Linked DNA regions of Homo sapiens: region 1 is linked to region 2. The links are contacts of gene promoters, found by promoter capture Hi-C in blood cells and fetal thymus (Javierre and others, 2016). All regions are on one chromosome and are shown on one strand. The core of a region is centred on a gene start or on the middle of the fragment in contact, and the rest is flanking DNA. Distances in the headings are between cores, read along the strand shown.

Region 1 (7,007 bases), core at 2,868-5,367, 1.1 Mb before region 2:
ATCCAAAATCCAAAATCCAAAATGCTCCTGTCAGCATTTCCTTTGAGCATCATGTTGGTGCTCAGAAAATAGTGAATTTTGAAGTATTTCAAATTTCAGATTTTTGGATTAGAAACCTACATATCAAAAAATATTTTGTGTAATGTCTTACGATGTGTGTGTTTGGAGCCTTCTCAGGGTTAAGCAGATATGAAAAGCCCACGTTTTCAGGAAAGAATTTAAGAAAATAAAGGGCCAACATTTTTTCCCTCCTGGCTCCATGTCATAATATTTTTGCCGGCTGCAGAGTCTATTCTTTTCTATCTTCAGACTTATCACTATCAAGCATTTTCCATTCCCCACAATTCTCATTTTTTGTTATCTTTTTGCACTTGCAAAAACTGAAATTTGGCTTGAATGAGACACATTTCCCTACCCTTTATCTCTCACTGATTCATTCCTTGAATTGGGACAAATCTTTCTAATCTAAGCCAGTTTCATCCTCTTGCAATACAGTAACCTGTGTCAGCAGAGTCCTGTGTGGGATGAGTTTGGCAGAATTGCAGACTGCATTTTTGGACCTAGCAGTTGAAGATGATTCTGTCCCTCATCAATTTTTTTCCGCAAGGGCACTTTTGCCTTCAAATGGTATTGTGTTTTTCTATTTCCTTTATCTAAAGAAAGTCTTCAACTTAGTTTTGTTCTGTTCCTGTGAATGTCGGCACAGGAAAGTCCTTGAAGAACATGAGAAACAGGAGCTTCATCTGGGCTCTGTGATGGTGCCGTTGTATGAATTGAAATCCATCAGGGTGGGACTGGTTATCTGTCTAACAAAGATGCAATGAGACATGATTGAGAGTGTGCTTCGGGTGGAGTGTTTCTTACATTTTGAGGTTAAAAGCCTTTTCTGTCATTGTTTTTATTATTTATTTATTTATTTTTATTAGAGATGGGGTCTTGCTACATTGACCAGGCTAGTCTTGAACTCCTAGCCTCAAGCAATCCTCCCCCACCTTGGCCTCCCAACGTGCTGAGATTACAGGAGTGAGCCACCGCACCCAGACTCTGTCATTGATTTTGACAAGTTTTTTTTTTTTTTTTTTTTTTTTTGGTTGTTGTGGTTTTGGAAGTTTTTTCTCAGAAAGGACATACTTGACTGAATTTTTCTCAGAGCCTAATTATTATTTAGTTATTTGTATTTATTTCTTTTTGATTTCACTACAGTAGCCACTATATCTTGAGTAAATTTAGCTTTTAACTTGCTTTATGTTTTGGTAGATCTTAGTGATTATGCAATTTGATGATGCCATTCAATATCAAGGTCAGACCACAGCATGTACAAGAGGTTGCTGTCACGTGATAGTTTTCCATTTTCATCTCTTAGTATGCTCTCTTATTTCTTGCTTTGCTCATTCAATGAATGTTTTAAGAGTCTGATTGAGATATTACCTCATAGTAGATTACTTTCCCATTAATGTTTGCTCACTCATCTGTAGGCCTAGGAAGCTTTATATCTATTTACAACAGCGACTAGGACCAATAGTGTGCTGTTAAATGCTTAGGAACCAGTTCTCCAGGAAAAAAAAGTCCTGATTGGCAACGTCTGGCCATTTCCATAGTGTAAATCTCCCACTGTGGCTGATTTCCAGCTATTTCTGGTTTAACAAGTGGCTCACAAAATTCTTGAAAGTTTATCAACTGGCTTTCACCAGGAGGATGGCTCCAGCACCCACCACACCTGACAACAGTTATATTACTTTACGGATGATAAAAAGCTTTATCATCGTTTTATTTCATTTCTGATTTACAAAACAACCCTGTAGAGTAGGTGGTGTTATACATGAGGCATCTGAGACTCAGAGGCCTAAGTGGCTGGAAGTAGCTCCAGCAGCTATTATTAGGCAGAGCAGAGACGGAATGCTGCCTCTGAGCTGAGCATTCTTGGTGTTCTCATCACTCATGGCAACTGTTTCCCATTGTGAGGATTCCCTTAGTGGTGTCATATTTGGACTCCAAAGAAGTATACTCAAGAAATGACTACTTCGATGGTTTTAGCAGATAATTTTTAGTTATTTGAGGATAAGAATAATAGTCTGCTTATGAAAGAACTTGGTAAATTTTTTTCTTCTGGTTTTCAGACACCATTTCTGTCTTAAAATGAAGTATCTGGTGTATGATTGCTTTGTAATATTTTGTTACTTAAGGGTGGTATCCAGACAACCCTTAGTTAATGTTATAGAATCAGAACTAGAAAGACCTCTTCATTCTTCACTTAGAGAGGATTTAAGTGTCTCTGGCCATTTATTGGGTTAATAATGGTGACTTCAGGTGACCCAGGAAACATCTGGATATCTTTGCTGCACTTGGAAAGACATTTAGTTTGGTAATATTTTCAAATCATGTGATCATTTCAAAATGACTTGCACCATGGAGTGATGATGTGATGCTGGCAGCAGCTGCTGTTTGCTGGAGATTTCGTGTGTCAGGCACAGTTGGGAATACTTTATGAATATTAGTTTATTTCTCACCTTGAAGGTAGACATTGTTCTCAGTTTGTTGAAATCGAGGCTCATGTAAGTAAAAAATGCCCACATTCATAGCAAATAAGTGACAGAGTTAGTCTCTGACTCTGCAAAGGACTTATATGGCTTTTGTATAATAAAGTCGGTCACCCCATTTTGGTAATAAAAGGGATAATAAAAGACCAACATGTCTTCATTAGCTTGCAGATAAGCTCCAAGTTTCAGCACGTGCATAGTTTGTAATGCCTTCACAGGGTCTGCAGGCTCATTGCCATGAAAATATAGAACTAACAAGAATTTAGTTTTGATTGACATAGTTTATAAAATGTTCTTTTTTTTTTTTTTTTTTTTTTTTTTTTTTTTGAGACAGGGTCTCTGTCGCCCGGGATGGAGTGCTGTGGTGCGATCTTGGCTCACTGCGGTCTCTGCCTCCCAGGTTTAAGCAATTTTCCCACCTCAGCCTCCACAGTTGCTGGGACTGCAGGTACCCGCCACCATGCCTGGCTAATTTTTGTACTTTTAGTAGAGAAGGGGTTTCACCATGTTGGCCAGGCTGGTCTTGAACTCCTGGCCTCAAGCAATTTCCTTGCCTTGGCCTCCCAAAGTGCTGGGATTACATGCGTGAGCCACCGCGCCTGGCCTAAAACATTCTTTTAACAAAAGCATAGCTTTATGTTGAATTCAGGTAGATTCGAACCATTGCTTTTAATAACACAATATGGGTTCTTTCAGACTCTTGGGGTAGATTGAACTTCTCATAAAACTGTCATGGGACAGATTGCAACTTCTTTCCAATATCAGAATCTCTAGGTGAGTTCATCCATTTCTTTGCCCTGGGCTTTTTAAGAAAGTAGGGCAATGAGTCCCTGGTTTCTCATCTCCGTAAGAATGAAAGGATGCTGGAGCCAAGGTCTAGTCTACTGCCAGTTTCTCCAGGAACAATGTGGAGGAAAAGGACCAGTGTAGATCAGAAGTCCATGAGCGGAAACTCAGAATCAAAGCGGTTATTCAATTCTTCTTTTCTTGGAGGAAATCACTGTGTCGCCTGAAGAGAAAAATGCCCTTTGCTCTTGCACTGGGGAGTTCTGTTTAGTGCCTTTCCACACAAAAGGGCTGTACTGGCTGGTACTATAGACTTTTTTTATGAAGATCTTTTTCATAAATCCTTTTGCAGAGTATAGCCAGGTAGCAGTATATGAACATTGGAAGTGAAACAGTTTTCGTCACACAAAATTAACAATAAAAACACATGCAACTCATCATTTATAAAACGATACTTGCAATTTTTCATTATTCTCATTTCTGAGGGCAAATTTTCAGATGAAAACAGAAAGGAATTTTAGAAGTTTTCATTTTTTTTTCCTACATCAGGCTTCCCTATATGTCGTCTGTATAACAAGCACCTTGATCTTTCATTCAGTTATAAGAGGCTCATAAGCGTTGCCTCTGTTTTCTATATATTGGTAGTGTCATTAGAAAACCTGAGGGGGTGGGCCGGGCGCAGTGGCTCACGCCTGTAATCCCAGCACTTTGGGAGGCCGAGGTGGGCAGATCACGAGGTCAGGAGATTGAGACCATCCTGGCTAACACAGTGAAACCCCGTCTCTATTAAAAATACAAAAAATTAGCTGGGTGTGGTGGTGGGCGCCTGTAATCCCAGCTACGCAGGACGCTGAGGCAGGAGAATGACATGAACCCGGGAGGCAGAGCTTGCAGTGAGCCAAGATCGCACCACTGCACTCCAGCCTGGGTGACAGGGAGACTCGTCTCAAAAACAAAATAAAACAACAACAACAACAAAAAAATCTGAGGAGGTGGACACCATTTTTTGGTACTGAACGACGTGATGACCGTTTAAAAAGAAAGGTAGATGTTAAGAAGGCTTCCTTATACAAAAATTCTTGTATATTGTTCCTTCCAATTTTATTTTTGTTTTGATATATAAAATCCTATGTTAAATCTCTCATCCTGAATATCAGATTACTCCAGAAGGAGAAAGTAGCAGTCTAATTATTTTATTTGGTTGCATGGTAGTCTTAGTACAATTAAATCTCCTTTGAAAGTTTCTCAGTTATGTAGTTATGAATAGCACTCCACACCACGGCTGTGGTAGACCTGGAGCGGTATTGGGCCCAGGTCACAGAATGATCACGGAAGGACTTTAGAGATCACCTATTGAGTCCCTGTTTTAGAGAGGAGCAAGCAAAGGCCCAGAGAACTCACTCCATTTGCCGAGGTCCGACAAGTGTGTAGGTGAGCTGGAGCCAGAACCCTGTCTTTCGGTCTTCACTCTAGAGCTCTTTCCAAACAAACATGCTGACCTGGGAGTCTGACAATTGCTGTATGCTGATGTTTCCTATTTGAAGTCCACATGTCTTTGCAGGGGAAGAGAACTGTCTAGTATCATTCGTTAATGCCCACTCTTCATGTTTGCCAAAGACCACCAATACATTGGGCAGTGATTGTGTTACACTGGTTTGTTTATATGTCGGCTTTCAGTGATGCCAGAAAATCAAAAGGAGGTTAAGAAATCCCAGAGGTTCACCCAGGATGGGAGGCTAAACCTTTGTTGTATTATGAGTCTTAATTCAAGATAACATAATCTTTAGCCTAATAAACATTAGGTTGAATTTTGAAAATGTAAACACTAACTGATCTGTAGACTGACGTCTATTTCCTTGGCAATATTGGCCACACCCATTAAATAATAACTTCTCATTCTCCCTTCCCCCAGCCTCTGGCAACCTCTGTTATACTTTCTGTCTCTGAATTTGACTACTTTAGGTGCCTCATATAAGTGGAATCACATGACATTTGTCCTTTTGTGATACGATATTTTCTTTAAAAAGAAAATGAACAGAAACAGTACATGAGAGAAGTCAGGTCTGCAGCCAGTGTGCCTCTTAGTTCCATATTCATACAAGGCCCTCTTGGAAGCTCAGCTTTGGAGTTGGATATTATCTCAGAAGATATGGCAGCTTAGGAATCTGGTACTCTAAAAACAGATTTACAAGCATTAGACTTTTTTGTATATGTGTGTGGTCATTTTAGTCTTCCTGAAAGTGGTTAAGACCAATATTTCTAGGCAGACTATAGTTCACATCATCCAGTTCTGTAAGTCTTGGATTATCGATCTCATTGTCATGGCAAAAAAGGACAGGGATTACTCAACTCATTACTCCTGTGTCCAGACCTCTGAGCCTGGTGTGTGTGTGTGGCTCAGTGCCTTTCCCATAGTGGCCCACATCCCCCCAGGGCCCTGCATGAAGTTCCTGCAAGTCTACCCCCTGCACGTGCAGAGCAAAAAGAGCTTCCTATGGGAGCTGTTCTCCAGAAAAGACAGAAACCCGGGCCCTAGAGAACCAGAAGATTTAAATTCCAGTTTCAGCTCTGCCATTGACTAATTAGGCAACTGTAGGCAGTTCACTTTGCTCCTTTGGACCAGAGATTTCTCATCTACAAAATGAAAAACTTGGATTTAATTATCTCTGAAGTCACTTCAAGCAGAAATGTAACAATTCTTTGATTTATTAAAAAAAATAACATCAATGATAATGACCAACAGCTAACACTTATTACAAGGCTCCAGGCACTTTCGAAGTCCTTAATATTTAATGTTCACTACTACCTTAGGATATAAGTACTGTGATGCAGAGTCCTGGACACAGAGAAGTCAGCAACTTGCCTGAGGACAGCCTGCAGGACACAGCACTGTGATTTGAACCCAGAGAGTCTGACTTCAGCCCCCAGCGCTCAACTACTATTAATTGAAAGGGCATTGAAGAGACATGATGTCACAATAAAAAGAAAAAAAGAAAAGAAAGCATGTCTTCGACTTTCTAGTCGTCGTGCTTTGTATGGATTCTTCTTTCAACCTTGACGAAAGGGTATAATTAATCTGTAATTAAAGTCATGATAGTTTCTTAATACGAGGAAATGTTGTCATTGCGGTTCTCTGAACACAAGAGGGCGCTGTGGCAAAGCTTACCGTCTGCTCATCCTCTGCCGCAGGAGGGTACAACTTCGTGGGACAAACTTCAAAAGAAAGATGCCATTTCTAAGACCTCATTTATCACCTCGGGATAGCCAGTCTTCATGCCTTTAAAATACAGAATAAAAATAACACATAAATCAACACAATTACATTCCTTCTTGATAGCATCACCAGTCTTCTTGAGGCCTGGCGTCAAACCTCTGCTTCAGTGTTACGTTATGGGGTGCGCATGCCTCCTTAATACCCACCTTGCTGGTATTCTCCAGATGGCTGTCTTCTTAGCAGTAGATGGAATTAAGCACCATAATGAGGGATATTTTATTTAAATCTGCTTTAAAAAAATCTTCCATGACTTATTCACATGTCTGGTTAGCTATCACACTGCCATTCCATGTGATCGGAAATGAGAAAGATTTAAAGAAAGTAATTGTTTAGCATGCAACGGATGTACCTCTTTTGCTTCAGATGAGAATAGGCAGCATAGAAGAACTGGGGCTGATTCGTGGAAGGTT
Region 2 (6,392 bases), core at 3,712-6,211:
ACCTGCCCAACTTGCTTGGTCAAGCAAAGTCTTATGCCTATCTCATGGGGACATCACCCAAGGATGATTATCGGATGGTTACCTCAATGTACCACCTGTCCTTTAAAGCTGGGAAAGCCTGTAGGACTTTCCTGCTGCTCTGCCCCTGCTCTTTGTCTTCCCTGACAGTCCCATGCTGTCTATGGGGATATAATTCACTTATTCACTCATGTGCTTAAGAAAATATCAGTTGAGCACCTATGATAAGCATGTGCCAGTAAATGCACAAACGTTATTTCTGTAGCAGCTGGATTATTACAGCAGCATTCAGATTGGTCTTCCTGCTTCTACCATTGCCTTTCTGTAGCCAATTTCCTACACACACGACTGATGATCCTTTTAAAAGAATTTACATAATGCCATTCTTCTGGTCAAAACCCTCCAATGGCTTTCCAGCTGTTACAGTAAAAGCTAGAGTCCTCACCATGGCCTATAAGGCCTGAACCACCTGCAGCCCCTCTGACCTCACCTCCTGTGCATCTCTCTCTCCTACTCTGCTCCGGCCACACTGGTTTGCTTGGTTCCTTCTCAGGCCATGTGTTCCCACGTCACGACCTCTGCACATGCCAATGCCTCTCTCTAGACCGCCATCCCCCAGACACCGGCAGGGCTTGCTTCCTTCAACTCTCTGCTCAGATGCTGTATTCTCAGTAATATCTTCCCTGACCACCTTCTATGGAGTAGCACATCCACTTCCCTTTTCATTTCCCATCCTTTTATTTTTTCCTCCATGGCCTTACTACTCTGTGGCATTTTATTTATGTACTTGTCTGTCTGTGTCTCCCACCAGAATATAAGCTATAGCAGCACAGAGACTGTCTTCTTTGCTGCTGTATCTCCAGGACGTACATTTCCTGGTACACAGTGATGGATGAATGTGTTGTAAGTACCGTGCTATATTCTGGGTATAAAGAGATGAATAGCACAAGATTTTTTAGATTCTTTTTTTTTTTTTTTGAGGTGGAGTCTCACTCTGTTGCCCAGGCTGTAGTGCAGTGGCTCACTGCAACCTCTGCCTCCTGGGTTCAAACGATTCTCCTGCCTCAGCCTCCCGAGTAGCTGGGATTACAGGTGCCGGGCCACCACACCCAGCTAATTTTTCTATTTTTAGCAGAGACGGTGTTTCACCATGTTGGCTAGGCCAGTCATGAACTCCTGACCTCAAGTGATCTGCCCACCTTGGCCTCCGAAAGTGTTGGGATTACAGGTGTAAGCCACCGCACCCAGCCTAGATTTTTACCTTTGGAGGAGTTCATAACTGGGTGGCAGGAGAAGAGGCAGATGCCAGCAATCAGGGGGTGCTGTAAGGGAAGGCCAAGGGAGCAGAGGCTGGGCCTGGAGAATCACAAAAGCCTTGGGGAGCAGTAACAGTTGAGCCCATCCTGGAGGATGAGCAAGGAGTGACTGGGGAGAATGCGGGGGAGGCCTCTCACACCCCCTCTCACTTCCCCTTGTCCCTCTGCTTCAGTCATGGTGGCTGGTGGCTGTCCTCGATCCCCACTGGCTAGGGGTAGATGTGTTGCCCGGGTCACATGCTTCCTCAGAGTCAATCACTGAGGCTGGGAAGATAGAATGATCTCGTTGACCAGGCTTGGGTCATGTATTCCCCTTGGATAATGAGAAAGGGAGGGAGGTTCACTCCTATCAATCACAGAGCCTGGGAGAAAGGGGGTTCCTAAAAGGAGAATTTAGCTGCTATTTCCATACAGTGAAATGAACAGTGGGCTGGCCAAACAACACAATGGTCTCTCTTCCCACTTGGTTATTTTCACATCCATACTTTTTCTTTGTTCTGTTTTCAGTTTTCCTGTACTTAGGAAACTGTACCCTAAATATGCCAGAACTCTTGTTCTGTGTCCAGCCAGGAAGATGCCACAGGATGCCAGTAGCAGCTGGGCGTGGGGGACATCCAGGCATGCGGTGTAGGAAGGGGTGGGGTGAGGGTGTAGAGTCATCTCTGCTTCTGTCCTACTGGGTTACTGGCAGGATAGAACATTGTTCTGCACAGAGATTAGAACTCAGGGTATGAATGGCTCAGAGTTTAGGTACAGACTGCATTAAACAGTCATTCTATAACCACCGCTGACAAGACAACCAGCTTACAATAAAGTATTATTAGCCTTTGACTTGTTTGTAAGAAGGAATTATCTTGTTTAACCACATGAAACCTTCTGCTTTACTTCCCAAATGTTCCTTTAACAGTTTGATGACCATTCATCCTGGTTTGCTCGGGATTGAGGGGCTTTCTAAGACACAGAATTTGCAGTTTAAAAATTAGGACAGTTCTGGGAAAAGGGTAGATATGAAAACAAAATAAACAGTGTTTTTTGGACTTTAGGGTATTTTATAATTGTAGAGACTGTAGAGTTGTACCTACAAACTGTTTTAATAAAGAACTGTACTGCATCCTGTCATAAGTGAGGCTGCACCCAGGTGTTGCAGAAGAAATCTTTGGAATCACCTGTTCCTTAGGTAATTAATTCTACCTTGTGTGTTAGCTCAGGCTACTATAATAGAGTACCACAGATGAGTGGCTTAAACAAAAAAACATTTATTTCTTACAACTCTGGAGGCTGAAGTTTAAGATCAGGGTGCCAACACGACTGGGTTCTTGGGGAAGGCCCTCATCTTGGTTGACAGAGAGCAGTCTTCTCCTCGTATCTTCACATGGCAGAGAGCAGAGAGATAGAAAGCAAGTTTTCTCCCGCCTTTTTCTAAGGGTACTAATCACATTCATGAGGACTCCACTCTAGTGACCTGATTACCTAATTGCTTCTTTAAGGCCCCACACTTTAATACCTTCACCTTGTGGGTTAGGATTTCAACAATATGAATTTTGGGGGGACACAAACATCCGTCCATTGGATGTTGATTAGATAGGAAGCAAAAGTTGGATTCAGTATGGTACAGTACTTTAAGATCCCATTTATTTTAAAATTTGTTTCAATTTATGCCATCTTCTTTTGTTGTTAATCTCTAAGAGATATAAGCTATTTAATTTTTTGTTATTGTTACCTAATAACACATACAGGAAACTGTAGAAATTAAGCATCAAATCAATGAATTTTCTAACAAGAAGATATCCGTGGAACTACCATCCAAATAATTCATTTTCCATGGATAAAGTACATTCAACTATGGAGTCTTTTTTTCTGTTTTGTGAGACGTTGATTCACCATATCTGAATTCCATGTATCTTTGAGCTACTTAAACTGATGCCAGAATTCCAGGCACAGCAACAAAACAAAAGAACCCAACTTCCGGTGAGCCTTGCAAATCCAAACTGCTTTTCAGTGATGGAAAATGCTATCTGATTAACATTTAAAACGAGTACTTTTGATACAAGAGATACATATACTTTTTTCCTTTTTTTTGGAAGCTCCTCCTATGAATTTACTTTACTATATCAACTTTTCACTGTATTCAACATATATGGACTGCAAAATAAATCAAGGTGGAAGGCCCTACATTAACAGTTGGGATAATAAATAGTATACTGTTATAATAATAGAGCATTACAAATGTTGCAGAAATGATGGTGATGACAGCTATATTTTACAAATCCAACTTTGTTTTTTTAGATAATCATTGGACTGGCATATGTCTCAGGCTAAAGGGAAACCAAGAGGTCCATGTGTGGGCAGAAACCAATTAAGTTGAGCACTCACTGAACTGCTTTCTCAGCCAGGATGGGGAACGACTGACTACAAATTAAGCTGTACACATGTTAGACTGAAAGAGTTTACAGGTAAATGTGGCCCAAGGCCACTGCCACGTCATTCGTTGGCCGGAACACTTGCAGTGGTAAAGTGAGACGGAGAAGCTATTTAATTCTTTGCAAGAGGAGATCTTTATACACTTTGGTGTGAAAGTAAAGAGGGAAAACTGGGCGTCCTATGCATGGCTGAGGACGGGAAGCCTGCCTACACCAGTGGTTCTCAACCCTAGCGCACTTCAGGAACTTCCTGGAGTTTAGAAAGAAGAAAAAAGAATACAGGTGCTCAAGACTCGCTCAAGACCAATTACTCATGTTAAACAAGATTTATGGGAGGCCATTGTTTTGGACTAACCTCCTGCACTAGGTCCTAGCAGACTAGACCAAACCAGAATGGAGTCACTTGTGCCAAGTGCCATGTAACCAAACTGAACTTTGAAACAGGCCCGTTTTCCCAAAAAACAGGAGATTGTAGTTAACCTGAGTCAGTACAATAACGAAGTCCAATCTGTTTTAACCCTATAAGGAAAGTAACTTTGAAATACCCACTCTTTGTTTTGTTCTTCAGCCTTTTTTTGCCCATAAAGCCAACCTCCTCTGCACAACTCATTGGAACACTCTATTTGCTTTATGAAATGATCTATTTCTCGATTCTAGATCCTAAATATAAGCCAATTAGATCTTTAAACTAAACTTGTAATTTTGTCTTCTGACACTCCCTATTACTGCAGGTGAAACCCAGGCATCAGAGCAAGTTTAAAACTCCCCAGCTGATTCTATTCTGCAGGAATGTTTGAGAACAAAGTTGGAGTCATTAACATGGCATCCCCCTTTGAGGAATGCTTCCAGGTCACAAACCTTCTACAAAAGGGCTGTCCCGGCAGCCTTGGGCAATTTCAGCTCCTAGGTCCGGAGTCAAGGGGCAGAACTTGGGTGATGGCGCTGACTTGAAGCAGCAATAGTTTAATAACTGACGTTCTCACGCACTTATCTCTGCAAATACCCCACAAAAGCCCTGAACCCAGAATGAAACTTAAGAGACCGTACAACCCGCTCCGCCTATAGGAACTGCCGCGGCACAGGCGCCAATGCCGAGGGCTGAATGCGCAGGCGCGGACCGGGGACTCGGGAGAAGGCGCATGCGTGGTCTTGAGGGCGGTGCTTCCGGTCAAAGCACCGCTTGGGGGCGGGGCCTGCGACACGCGGTGGGCGGGTCCTGAGTCGCGACCCTGGTCCGGACCTGACCTGAATTGCGACCCCAACCTGGACTGCTCCCCTGACCGCAACCCCTACCCCCGCCCACCAGTATGGCCCGGCACGTGTTCCTAACGGGGCCCCCAGGTAACCCTGAGGGGATCCCCACCTCCAAGAGGTCGAGGGGGTGGGGGCGCGCGGGCTGCGGGCGACCTTGTGCTGTCGGGGAGGGTCTCCGGCTCCAGGGCTCCGGCCTCTGAAGTTCCCAATTTAAATGGCGGGCTTGGTAGTCTGAAGAGTTTGTACTCCTTCCCGGAAAACGTGATTTAAAAGACACAGGGCCTAAAGGATTAGAACACACTTGTGAGGGGGTCCTAGACTGGCTTCTTGATGAAGGGCAGAAACCGCAGGGGCCAGCGGCAGCGGTAACTCCTACTGTAGTGTTGACGTTGTGGTCTGCACAAATGGTATTTCAAGAGATCTGCGGCAACCGCGATGTGAAGTGGAGATGTCTAATTTCTGTTGATAGTCACAGGTATTTCCTTACTGTGGGTCTTTGCTACATTGATCGTGCAAAAAAAAAATGGTAAATTTTAGTTGGAGGACAGCGAAACTGAAGTTGTAACCTTTCTTTCCCATCTAAGTTCATCCCCCCACCCCCATCCCCATCTCCATCCCCACGAATTCCCTCCACAGCTGAGGCCAGAGGTGGAGAAGCTTTGGTACCTACAGGAGCCCTTCTCAGACACTCTTGCTTGTTCCTGTCGCTGTCCCCTCCTGATGTCTGTCAGATCCCTCAACCCTGTGGCCTGTGGAGTTCTCATCTGAGAAGCAGGATAGCGTTGAGGTCAGATGAGAGGTGTAGGAGGAGGTGCTTTTAAACCAAGGCGCTACCCATGTATCAAGCATTACTAAAAAGGACAGGTAGGCTGCATCAGATAGGCTAAAAAAAGATAGATGGGCTAAGAGTGGAGAAAGTGATTTCTTCAGCTCCTTTGCAAGGCAAATCTAATTTTGAAGTTTAGTGTGGGTTCAGATATCAAAGGCTGTAACCCTGGATCTAGAATTCTCTTTCACTTTATTTTAATGATTATGTTTAGTTGTAAGTAGCAAAGGCTACAGCTAATATTGCAGACTTTGGGATTTTGTCAGGCATTGGATGGGGGAGTTGGGGAGCAGGGGGTGAGGAGGAGGAGGGTGGTTTGAGAAATGCCTGCTATCTAAAGTCACTCCTAAGTATTGCAAAGAACTGTTTTCTGAAAGTTGGTTTGTCAATCCTTTATTTGAAACTTGGAATGCAGTTTGATACTCAGCAGGCTGACCCCAAGACAACTGTGTGTTTTATTAATGGAGGTGTCCTGTTACCGTGATTGTATTGATGGTGGTTCTTGTTTCTGCTTTATCAAAGTCTTACCTACACGTAGTTGAAAGACTCAAATAATTC

The links. Contacts are between HindIII fragments. The CHiCAGO score rates a contact against its expected background, and 5 or more counts as called.
Region 1: a contact is called between a fragment that was not itself captured here and the fragment with the promoter of NTPCR in region 2, in 1 of 17 cell types (total CD4 T cells). The highest score is 6.5, in total CD4 T cells.

What each region holds. Positions count from the first base shown.
Region 1 is chr1:231,860,389-231,867,395 of GRCh38, forward strand. The region is part of intron 9 of DISC1 (DISC1 scaffold protein); the gene reads left to right. The region is part of intron 12 of TSNAX-DISC1 (TSNAX-DISC1 readthrough (NMD candidate)); the gene reads left to right. Among named protein-coding and RNA genes, the nearest start is that of DISC2, 45 kb to the left of the region's middle. The HindIII fragment of the contact is 4,730 bases long and covers 1,753-6,482 here.
Region 2 is chr1:232,945,650-232,952,041 of GRCh38, forward strand. It overlaps NTPCR (nucleoside-triphosphatase, cancer-related), which reads left to right and starts at 4,962. Exons shown (of 5, transcript NM_032324.3): 1 at 4,962-5,095. The coding sequence starts at 5,062. It overlaps LOC107985361 (a long non-coding RNA gene), which reads right to left and starts at 5,900. Exons shown (of 2, transcript XR_001738525.2): 1 at 5,679-5,900; 2 at 2,571-5,507. RefSeq lists enhancers at 4,684-4,783, 4,696-5,237, 5,238-5,777. The HindIII fragment of the contact is 8,064 bases long and covers 1-5,663 here.